2 separate regions of the Homo sapiens genome follow, and region 1 is linked to region 2. The links are contacts of gene promoters, found by promoter capture Hi-C in human tissues and cell types (Jung and others, 2019). All regions are on one chromosome and are shown on one strand. The core of a region is centred on a gene start or on the middle of the fragment in contact, and the rest is flanking DNA. Distances in the headings are between cores, read along the strand shown. Region 1 holds the start of PTPN9 (protein tyrosine phosphatase non-receptor type 9). Region 2 holds the start of RPP25 (ribonuclease P/MRP subunit p25).

Region 1 (5,261 bases), core at 1,838-4,337, 620 kb after region 2:
TAAAAAACAAAAGGGTACTTCTGGCTGTGTGCAGTGGCTCACACCTGTGATCCCAACACTTTGGGAGGCCAAGGCGGGTGGATCACCTGAGGCCAGGAGTATGATGAGACTAGCCTGGCCAACACGGTGAAACCCCATCTCTACTAAAAATACAAAAATTAGCTGGGCATGGTGGGTACCTGTAATCCCAGATACTCAGGAGGCTGAGGCAGGAGAATCGCTTGAACCCGGCAGATGGAGGTTGCAGTGAGCCGAGATCACGCCATTGTACTCCAGTCTGGGCAACAAAACCCAAACTCCGGCCAGGCGCAGTAACTCACGACTGTAATCCCAGCACTTTTGGAGGACGAGGCGGGCAGATCATGAGGTCAGGAGTTCAAGACCAGCCTGGCCAACATGGTGAAACCCCGCGTCTACTAAAAATACAAAAATTAGCTGGGCATGGTGGCAGGCGCCTGTAATCCCAGCTGCTCGGGAGGCTGAGGCAGGAGAATCGTTTGAACCCTGGAGGCAGAGGTTGCAGTGAGCCAAGATCAGGCCACTGCACTCCAGCCTAGATGACAGGGCGAGGCTCTGTCTCAAAAAAACAAACAAACAAACAAAAAATCAAAACTCCATCTCAAAAAAAAAGAGAGTACTCTTATGTGATATTAAACTAAAATATGGTAACATTAGGCATTACCATAATTAGAACTATACTGCTTTTGTTTCAATATTTTGAAATGCTTGTAAAAAAATAATATTTTGTAGAAAAAAGAGATAAGATTTTAAAAACACACACACACACAATCTCTTGACTTTAATAAACATTTTGCCGTTTCCATCCTAGTCCTTGTTAATGCCCATCACATTCAATTCAGGGTAAAAGATAAGGTTTTTACTAGTTAAACACATCTGTATATATGTGTATGCACTATGTACAAAGTAAAGCCAATACCATGTCAATACTATCAATACTTTAATATTTACTTTTCCTGGTTTTAGTTTTCAAATTTGCAACGGATGCTATTTGCATAGAATACTGATGGCTTTAAGTCTTAAAAACAGAAATCTGACTGACCCAAGGAAAAGGATGAAAGAAAGAGATTTTGTCCCTTTAAAATCAGCCAACACATCCTATCTTAGTACTGAAGTACTTCCCAATTCTGGCAGAATGGGCTCCTTGGCCACCTGCTTGCACTAGGGTCTGACTAGCATTTTATTAACATCCAACTGCAGTTACCAGGACATTCATTACCACTGCTTGTACAAAGCAGAATTCTTTTTAAATTTTTTTCCCATACAGATTTCATCACCAGGTGTCAAAAGACAAAACCGTGGCCTGAGGCCAAATAGAAAAATGTCATCTCCACAAATAAGGAGAAAAGACAAGGACTTTAAAAAATCAGGTCAACAAGCCCATTAGCCAATAATAGTTTGTAAAACTGGACTGTCTTCACACTAGAGGCTGTGCTAGCAAATGTGGTCCTTGGAAACAAGAGCTGTAGAGCTTGAAATGGGTTGCCAGCATGGTTTGCCTTTTTCTTTTTTCATGTTTATTTTTATTTTTTTTATTTATAACATGGAATCAGACTATGACTATAATCGAGCATAGCTATGGCGGGGTATGGGCAGTGCCAAGGAAGAGACAGCGAAAAGCCCGTAGGGTTCCCAGTCTAAGCTAGCAGACCTTCCCATCTTCCTCAGGAGTGGTCCCTGTCTCCGCAGCTGGAATGTGCGGGAGGGAAAGTTACAAGGGCCCCCAAAATGAGACAGCAAACCACTTCCTTCTGAAAACTAAAGGTCATAGGCTTTTAAGGAACAATAGAGCTCAATGTAAGCTTCAGAAAGATGGAGACAGTCAGATGAGACGAGGGTAGGGAAGCGCGGGTGAGGAGATGCGCCCCGTCTGGGATAGCTGAATAGGGGGGTCAAGGCCAGGGACTTTAGGAACACGAGAAGGGCTGGATCTTCCATAACCTGCCCAAGTGGGCCTGAGAAACCTAAGAGGCTCCTCTGAAAATCTAGGGCATCTATGCATCCAATACTCTCAGCCCTCTCCTCGGGAAGGGAGATAATCCCCACAGGAAGCACCCCCCAAACTGGGGCTTTTCCTGCCCTTCAAAAGCCACAAACCCTCACGGAAAACATTTACAAGGGAGTGGAAGGGCCGGGGGCAAGCAGCGGTTCTGCAAATCTCGGGAAGAAGGCCCCTGGATCCAAGGAACTTTGCCCCTGGAATAGGGGGTGGGGTGCGGAGGGCACCGTCTGAGGCTGGTAAGCCTCGGCGAAAGAAGCGGCGGGAACGGGAGTAGGGTCCCGTGGGTCCCCCGACGAGGGGGTGGCGGCCTGGGGCGCGGTCGCCGGTGAGGGAGGCCCGCGAGCCGGGCACGGGAGCGGGGGGCTGCGGCCCCGTGGCTGCAAAGAGCCGGCACTCGGGAGGCAGAGGCCGGCGTAGGCCTCGGGGGCCCGGACACACCCAACGCGGCGGCCTCGGGCCCGCTTACCTGCTCCTCCTCCGGGGTCAGCTCCGGCGCCATGTCGGGCCGGGGCGCGGTCGCGGGCTCCATCCCCCCGCCACCGCCGCCGGGCGGACAAAACTCGCTCGCGAGCGCGGGAGCCCGGCGCGCTCGGCCTCCGCTTCCGCGTCCCCGCGCCTCAGCAGCCCGGGGCCGGCTCGCGCATAGTGTGGCCGGCAGGGCCCGGCGCCTGCAGCGGCCGCAAACGCCGCTTCTGCTTCCTTAAGAAAAATCTCTCCGAACTGCCGCTCTCTTCCGGGAGGAAATCCTTTTTTATATTATTCGCTCCGTTCCTCACACTCCCCCTTATCTCCTGGGGAAGAAAAAGTGCAGGCGAAGAGCTAACAGCCACTCGGGATTTAAAAGGAAATAGGAAATCAGGAACTTTTAGAGCCGGGAGCGAAGGGTCGGCGGAAATTTCCCGAAGGCCGCCGACCCCCTCGGCGCCCCGCTTCCTCGGCCGCGCTCCCGCTCCTCCACAGCGCCACAGAGCTCGGGGCCGCCCAGCCGGGCCGTCCTCGCGGACGCTGGCCCTGCGACCTGCGCGGCTGCCTCAGCCAGGCTCCTCGCGGGCGGCCGCAGCGAAAGGGAGGGAGTGGAGAGGGAGCGAGGGAAACGCGCCCCCCTCCTGACTCACGGCCAACGCTGCGGCCGCCCCGCGGCCGCCCGAGCCCCCCGCGGCTCCATTGAGAAACTGAGCGTCTCATTCACAAGCTGGCGGCGAGGAGGGCCCGGCGGAGCGAGGACGCAGTCCGGGAGGGGGAGACAGAGAGGAGCCCGGGCGGGGGAGGGGACCGGGAGGGGGAGGGGACCCGGGCGGGGAGGGGACCCTAGCTGGACGGAAGGCAACTCGACTGCGGGAGGGAGAAAAAGGAAGAAAAGAGTATTTCGTGAGGCTCAGATCCTCGGAGGAGGAGGAGAATACGTTCGTTTGCAAATTATCTGCTGACTGGCACCTCTCCTGGGGTTAACTTGCCGCTGCCACCTACGCGTGAGAAACCCACAATCCTCAACTATTTGTCGCTTGCAGCCTGAAAGACCCTGGAAAGGTTGCCTGCCAGGCCAGGATGCTTAGGTGGAAGGAATCGCACCTGCCTCCCTCTCTCTCCCTCCTTACTGGCTGCACCCTGTAATTCATCTCCAGTGTCGCTAATTTTAATCCCCCATAGAAACGACATCAGACTCCGAACATCATTCAGGAATGACGCGGCCTTTGCAGACCTTTGATTTTCACTAGGGCAAGTGCAGCAAAGGGTTCAGGATTAGGGGTACAGTCTTGGAGTCATTTGGGGAGGAATGGGGCATAGAGAAGGCAAGGCTGGGTCTGGTACGTTGTTGCATTATTCCAAGCCAAAGATAAATATTCCAAAGGGACCCAAAGTCCACAACTAGTTCCAAGGCTGAAGCCCTGGAGCCAGTCCTGAGGGACCCAAAGGAGGGGCCTTCAGACAACAGGAAGGTGCTGTGAGTTGTGATGCTCCTATGATTTTTTTTTTATTTTTTTTTTTGAGACGGAGTCTCTGTGTCGCCCAGGCTGGAGTGCAGTGGCGCGATCTCGGCTCACTGCAACCTCCACCTCCCGGGGTCAAGCGATTCTCCTGCCTCAGCCTCCTGGGTAGCTGGGATTACAGGTGCGAGCCACCACGCCCGGCTAATTTTTGTATTTTTAGTAGAGACGGGGTTTCACCATGTTGGTCAGGCTGGTCTCGAACTCCTGACCTTGTGATCCGCCCGCCTCGGTCTTCCAAAGTGCTGGGATTACAGGCAGGCGTGAGCCACCGCGCGCCTGGCTTTTTTGTTTTTCTTTTTTTGAGACGGAGTCTCACTCTGTCACCCAGGCTGGAGTGCAGTGGCGCGATCTCGGCTCACTGCAAGCTCCCCCTCCCAGGTTCACGCCATTCTCCTGCCTCAGGCTCCCAAGTAGCTGGGACTACAGGCACCCGCCACCGCGCCCGGCTAATTTTTATTTTTATTTTTTTTATTTTTTTGTATTTTTAGTAGAGACGGGCTTTCACCATGTTAGCCAGGATGGTCTCAATCTCCTGACCTCGTGATCCGCCCACCTCGGCCTCCCAAAGTTGTTGTTGTTGTTGTTGTTGTTTTAACACAGGGTCTCACTTTGTTGCCCAGGCTGGAGTGCAGTGGCGTGATCACAGCTCACTGCAGCTTCAAAGTCCTGGGCTCAAGCAATCCTCCCGCCTCAGCCTCCTGAGTAGGTGGGACTACAGGTGCACACCACTGCACCTGGCTAATTTTTTTTTTTTTTTTTTTGGTAGAGATAGGGGTCTTACTATGTTGCCCAGGCTGGTCTCAAACTCCTGGTAAACTGCCTTTGCAAAATTATAACTGATGATTTTATGACAGTGAAAGAAATCAGACCTAACTGACTCTATCTTGTTTCTAACCCTTAAGCTGTCCTTGTTCATTCCTGGGCATAGGCCGAACTAACTTTGGGAAGGAATTCAGTTCATGGTTTGACTCTGAAACAAAATTGATAATAGCCCTTTCCCGAAAAGACCCCCTTCTTCCCTGGGGTCCAGTCTGCCTTTGCAGGACTAACAGATTAAGCTACAAGATTAGAAATTACAATTTAGGGGTCATGCAGCCATGGGCTCCAAGAGTCTAAACCTCCCCAAACTGCTCCTGGGGATAACATCACTATTGTAAAACCTAAGATCAGTGCTTGAGATATTTTGCAGACCCTGCACCCAGTGCATCAGCTGATACCATCCAGACTGGTAATCTGGCCCAAATAGGTCTGCC
Region 2 (5,830 bases), core at 1,051-3,550:
TACATTCTTCCGCATCTCCCCCTTTCCAGGGGTGCTGCTGAGTTGCATGGGATGAGATCTGCTTCTGAGATCCTGGGGCTGTATGCCACCCCCAACTCACCAGAGCTCTTCCAGCACACAGCAGCACCCCCACCCCCCAGCTGGCTTGGAGTTGGGCAGAGAAGCTTATGAGGCTGTTATCTCTCAACAGACAGCTGTGCAGGGCTGGAGGCAGCAGCTTATCAGGAGGCCTGCAGTGATTCACAGCCCAAGACCCAGCTTCTCTGCTGAATAGTAATTTCCAGCAGTGGATTTGTGCTCAGTCTCTCTCCTCCCCCTTTCCCAAGGGTGTGCTGTCCTTTCTCAGAGAGAGGGCAGTGAAGGGGAGATCCTACCCACAGAGCTGGGGGCTTTGTGCCAGCCTTCTGGGTAAGGTTCAGTTTATTGTCTGGAGGCTGCAGATTCAGGGACCTCAGCAGGGTCTGCCACCCTTTGCAGTGACCTCCAGGAGAGTTCATCGATGCTGTCCTTCCACTCCTTCCTTCCCCTCCCAGAAAAACAATGTGCCGCTCCCTTTCCCTTAGTGGCGATGTACAGGGGTACACGGGCCCCCATTTGCAACAGCCTCTGAGGCCAGGGCCAGCCCGGGAGGGCGGAGTGGGGGAGGAGAGAGGAAGAAGCCAGGGACTGGGCAGTGCCTTGCACCATTTTGAAGCTGTTCAGTCTCTGTGCCTGACCCTGAAGACTCCAAAGACTCAGGACGCAAGGCTGGAGGGGAGGGGAGACACAAGGGGCCAGGCGAGAGCTGTCTCTGCACAGGCGGGTGGTTAGAAAAAAAATGGGGGACACAGCCATTTTTGTGCTTGTTTTATTGGAAGCAAGACTCCAGCCAGCTGCAGGGCTCAGGGGAGGAGGCCTGGAGAGTTCAGTCCTGGGTCTCCCTCTGGGCCAGCAGGGGGAAAAGGGGTGTTAAAAGAGCTAGAACCCTCAGAGATGCTCCTCTGAAGCAGGGGAAAGAAAACTAGAAAGGAAAACTGTCCCAGGGCGGGGAGCGGAATAGGGCCCCCACATCTCAGACTCTCCTACCCTCAAGCAGTTAATTCTCACCCCCTGCCTTCCTCTGTCAACGGTGGGGGTGATTCCAATAACTCTTCTCAGCTTCCATACTTCAGGTGCTCTTCGTGAATGCTGGGTGGCTTTAACCCTTGGGGGTCCCAAACAAGTTTCCAGAATCCCACTGTCCACCATTCTCCCCCAAAGAAGGTCCCAGAAAAGGTGAAGTTCCGTGTCTTCACGCAACACGGGCATAAGCAGCAATTATCGCACGAAGTTTCCCTAGGGTGGTCGGGGATCCTCTCCTGCCACTCCTGGGGCCCCTCTCTTGTCGCCTTAAGGTCCATGCTACCTGTCTTGAGGAGCTGTGTCCAGGTTGTGGGCTCCGGAGGACCGAGGAGTGAAAGGCTGGAGGTACATCTGAAGGTGGAGGCGCTGGCGGAAGATCCTGCCGGACTAGGTGGCCCACAGTCCGGAGTTTCAGGCCGTCTGATCCTCGTCCGCAACCCCTGGCTCGGGTTGCGATCGCTTCGCGGAGCCTTCTCCAGCTGCGGGTTCCCCTAGGCTCCTCTTGGACGCTGGCGCGGCTGGCGGGGACGAGGGACCAGGATGGGGATTCGGGGGCTGGTAGCCGGGCTGTCGCGGATCCAGCGCGTCCTTGGAAAGTAGGATGGCGAGGCCGGGCACGTTCTTAAGTACGCTGAGACTAGCGGCCGGCTCGCCAGGCGTCTGACCCTGCGTGGGCCCAGGCGGGAGGCTCTGCCACACCTCGCGTACGCTCCGGTAGCGCAGCCGCGTGACCTGGTGCAGGCCCGCCAGGCGGCGCTTGAGGATCTCGGCGCACGTGACGGTTTTGGTGGTGGCCCGGCCGCAGCCGCTGAAGACGATGGCGCGCGTGGCTGGCTGCGCCATGCTGGCGGTGGCGAAGGCCATCAGGTTCCGGATCTTGCTGCCTTCCTTGACCCGCATGTGCACCGCGCCCGGCGCCAGGTCTGCGAAGGGGCCGGAGCCCGGGCCGCCTCCCTCGGCCCCGCACCCCGCTGGCGCCTCTTCGGAGCGCACCTTACGGAAGTTCTCCATGCGCCGTCGTCGCCGGGACCGCCGGCTTTGCCATGGGGCGGCCTCAGCCCCGGGGCTGCATGGCCGCCGGTCGCGCCTTGCAAGGGCCAGCAGGGGTAAGGGCGCCGGAGCAGCGCAGACGCCGGCGGGCGGGCTGGGACGGCGCGATCTCGGCCCCACTTCTCTCGAGCGGGCGCCGCTCTACTCAGCGCTCTCGGCGCCGGGTGCTCCGCGCCTTTAGCTGAGGCCCCGCCCCTGCCGCCAGGCCCCTCCCCTGACCCGGCCCGGCCGGGCCCGCCCGGGCCCCAGCCTCACTAGCCTTTCCTGGCGAGTCTGGGTCCTCAGCTACGCGGGCGTGGGAGCGGGCGCGCTGCGGGGCGCATGAGCAGGTGAAGGTGAAGTTCCACTATAATCGCCATCAGCGCTCTGAGAGCCAACCCTCACAAACCGGCAGTCTAAATAAAAGCTGCGCTTGCCGTGCAAACACTGCTTCAAATCCGGTATCCGAGCCCTTCCCATTTGCAACTGAAGGCCGCCCCTCGTCCCCTCCCAGGGAGAGATTTCCAAGAGGCTTGCTGGGGCCTTGCCCCTCCTCCCCCGCCCCGGGGAACACCCCCACCTTTTTTCCGCTCCCAAGTATTCTTGCCTCAAGGACAGCTAGTGCGCGGTCAGCAGAGTGCGGGAGGAGCTGGCTGCGGCTCCACTCCGCGCCTCCCCGCGGGCGATTACGTCGCGGCGTGGTCCTCGCGGGGCGCGGAAGACCCAGACTTCAGCCTCGCCACGCCTGCCCGGAGCTCGAGGCTCCCGGACCCCCGTCCACCCCTGGGACGTGAGGAGTGAGGCTTTGGGCCAGGCTGTTCCCCGAGGCGCGTGGGGAAGCGGGCGTGACCTCTTCTGAAAAGGCGGTAGGCTCGCTCCACCCAGGCCCTAGAGCCCACCCTTAGAGCTGCGCGCTTTAGGGTGAGCCAGGCACGATGCCTTGCCAACGTGGCCGCCCCCTTCCTCCCAGGCGGAATTCGCTCAGGCAACATTGGCCCCTTGAGATCCAGTGGGGTCCTTTTCGAAAGGAGGCTAGGTGAACGCAGGTTTTAAAAAAGAGAAGGGAGGGGCCGGGCGCGGTGTCTCACGCTTTTAATCCCAGCACTTTGGGAGGCAGAGGTGGGCGGATTACTTGACGTCAGGAGTTCGAGACCAGCCTGGTCAACATGGTGAAACCCCGTCTCCATTAAACGTACAAAAATCAGCTCGGCGTTGTGGCACGCTCCTGTAATCCTAGCTGCTCGGGAGGCTGAGGCAGGACAAGCGCTTGAACCCGGGAGCTGAAGGCTGCAGTGAGCCGAGATCATGCCACTGCACTCCAGCCGGGGCGACAGAGCAAAGCTCTGTCTCGAAAAATGAATAAATTAATTAATTAAATAAAATACAAAAGAGAAGGGAGGGATACCCCATTCTCCAGGATGTGATTATTATGCATTGCATGCCTGTATCAAAACGTCTCATGTACCCTCTAAATATAGACACCTATTGTATACCCACAAAAATTAAAAAGACTTAAAAAAAAATAAAAGAGAGAAAGAAGGGAGGAAGATGGGGAGTTGAAGCCCTGGGGGCATTATGGAACTACTGGATGCCTCTCCGGCGGAAACTCCACGGGACCGAAAGAGAGGCCCGGGGTCTCCTGCCGGGTGAGAGAAGCATTAGAGAAAGATGAGATTGGGGGCTGTCAGGACTACTGATGGAAGGGAGGGGGTCTGAGAAGGGGCCCGACCCTCCCTAAAACTGCTCTCGGGATTCCCCCGTCCTCCTTCCACCCGCCCTACGCAGTCAGGACTGAGAGAGGGCGGCAGATCTGGTCCTAGCCAGGGGACTGTGACGGGGCGTGGCGGGGAGGGACACAGAGAGCTGGGGCGGGCGGGCCACCGGGAAAGTGCTGGGGGCATGACAGTGCCTTGGATTGCTGGGCCTCAGTTGGAGATGGGGCTGCCAGATGCTGTTCTCCCTCCTCCCGCTGTTCTCGCCCTCTGGGCATCTGCAGCAGCTCTCAGTCCCTGCTGTTCAAAACCAGGGTTTACTTCCTTGTCACTTCTTGGGAGCGGCCCTCGGTCCCTGCTGTTCAGAACCGGGATTTACCCTCTTACCACTTCCTGGGAGTGGCTGCGGCGACTGGACCTTGGCACCGCAATGTGTGAATGGCTGACCCCCTCCCCGTCTCCTGGTGGGATCAGGAACCCTCGGGGTATGCTCCGAACCGGGACTTCGGTCTCGGTCCAGTCTCCATGGGCCCCACACAGCGGTGGGGGCTGGAGGCACAGCAGCCTTGGGAAGAAACAAAGACTGTCCGCAGCGCGTAGCGGGGCGTGGAGAACCGAGGGCTGTGTAAGGTCAGGCCCTGAGAAAAAGCCCCCGAAAGGCTGGAAGTTACGTTGGAACGGGCTGGTTGTGGAAGGAGCGAGCTCTCCGTCCCCGGGAGTATGCAAGTTTGGGCTGCACGATCACTTGGAAGGGATTGGGCGGAGTTCTGTCATTTGGAGAAAGGGTCCTGGGAGCTTCAGGTTTGTGTAGGGCGAGGACGGGGCGGTTCTGCGTCCGGCCAGGTTGGCCCTCGAGGACCCAGCCGTCCCCAACCTCCTAAACTGCTGTCGGATGTAGAAGACTCGCATTCACTGCTCTCCACAGTCGGTGAAGGGAGAACGCCGAAAAGGGCCGCATTCCCTCCTGCCGGTCCCCTCCCCTTCCCGCGCTCCCTCTGCAGCACTTAAAATGTAAATGTACATCGTGATTAGCCGCGGGGTCGCTAATTACAGCTGAAGCCATTCATTACACTGTCAGCGCGCGTCGCAGCCCGCCGGCTGTGCGCTCCCTCCTAGCCGTGAAGGGGTGTAGGGGGTGGGGGCGGGAGATGCGGGGAGTGAGGGAGGAAGGATGGGGTGCTGTGAATTAGGGTAATGTGGCAGGCCTGGAGGAAGCTGGAGTGGGAGAGAGCGGGCAGCGAGCGGGGAAAACAGGGTGGGCGGTGAAGGACGGGGCGGGGTGGCGAGGAGAGAGGAGAAACGCGAGAGGCAGGAAGGAATTGGGGCATGAAGTAGTGAGGACACAGGGAAAGGGGCTGTATGAGGGGGGAAACAGCGTAGGGGACAGGGCGAAGGGAGAAAAAGCTGAGAAGAGGGTGGGAACCCCAGGGTGGGGCCAGAGTCAGAGGAGGGGAGCACAGGGCTCAACTTCAGAAAGGCTGGTAAATTTTAAAGTAGAGCATCAGTGGTGCACACCACACAATGGTTAGAAAAGTGGAGTCAGTGAAGACGTTGTGTTAAAGGAGCTGGGTGCCAGCCATACACAGAGTAGGGGGGCATTTATTTCCGTGTGTGTTTATAGATGTAAATGTATTTTTAAAATATCTGCAAGAAAACAGCACACTGACCTCTTGTTACCGCATGAAGTTTTCATTACCTTCTTTAAGAAAAGGACAATTAAATATGAATACAGAGTCTTGGAGCAGCTTGCATAAATGAGCTACTGACCCTGAAGCTTCAGCTTCTATTAGCTTCTTTCTGCCTCTGTGTGACCTTGGACAATTTACTTAACCCATTTGCTTTGGCTTTGTCATCTGTAAAATGGGGCTAATTATAGTAATCTACCTCACAGAGTGATTATGAGACACAGCCGTCTTGGAACCTTGGCTGCTAAGTTCTCAGGAAATGTTGGCTGTTATTATTTTTCATATATTATTTGTGAATTTAAA

What was found. The method cuts DNA at HindIII sites, captures the fragments that hold promoters and counts their contacts. A contact is called where the count stands out against the background at its distance.
Region 1: a contact is called between the fragment with the promoter of PTPN9 here and the fragment with the promoter of RPP25 in region 2, in 1 of the 25 tissues and cell types used here (psoas muscle).

The regions. Positions count from the first base shown.
Region 1 is chr15:75,576,228-75,581,488 of GRCh38, forward strand. PTPN9 (protein tyrosine phosphatase non-receptor type 9) reads right to left here and starts at 3,088. Exons shown (of 13, transcript NM_002833.4): 1 at 2,487-3,088. The coding sequence starts at 2,549. RefSeq lists silencers at 2,296-2,695, 2,956-3,445 and an enhancer at 2,655-3,253. The HindIII fragment of the contact is 16,601 bases long and covers 536-5,261 here.
Region 2 is chr15:74,954,472-74,960,301 of GRCh38, forward strand. RPP25 (ribonuclease P/MRP subunit p25) reads right to left here and starts at 2,301. Exons shown (of 1, transcript NM_017793.3): 1 at 1-2,301. The coding sequence starts at 2,112. The coding sequence ends at 1,513. RefSeq lists enhancers at 117-1,050, 1,051-1,984, 1,985-2,918, 3,913-4,469 and a silencer at 1,944-2,593. The HindIII fragment of the contact is 8,066 bases long and covers 1-5,830 here.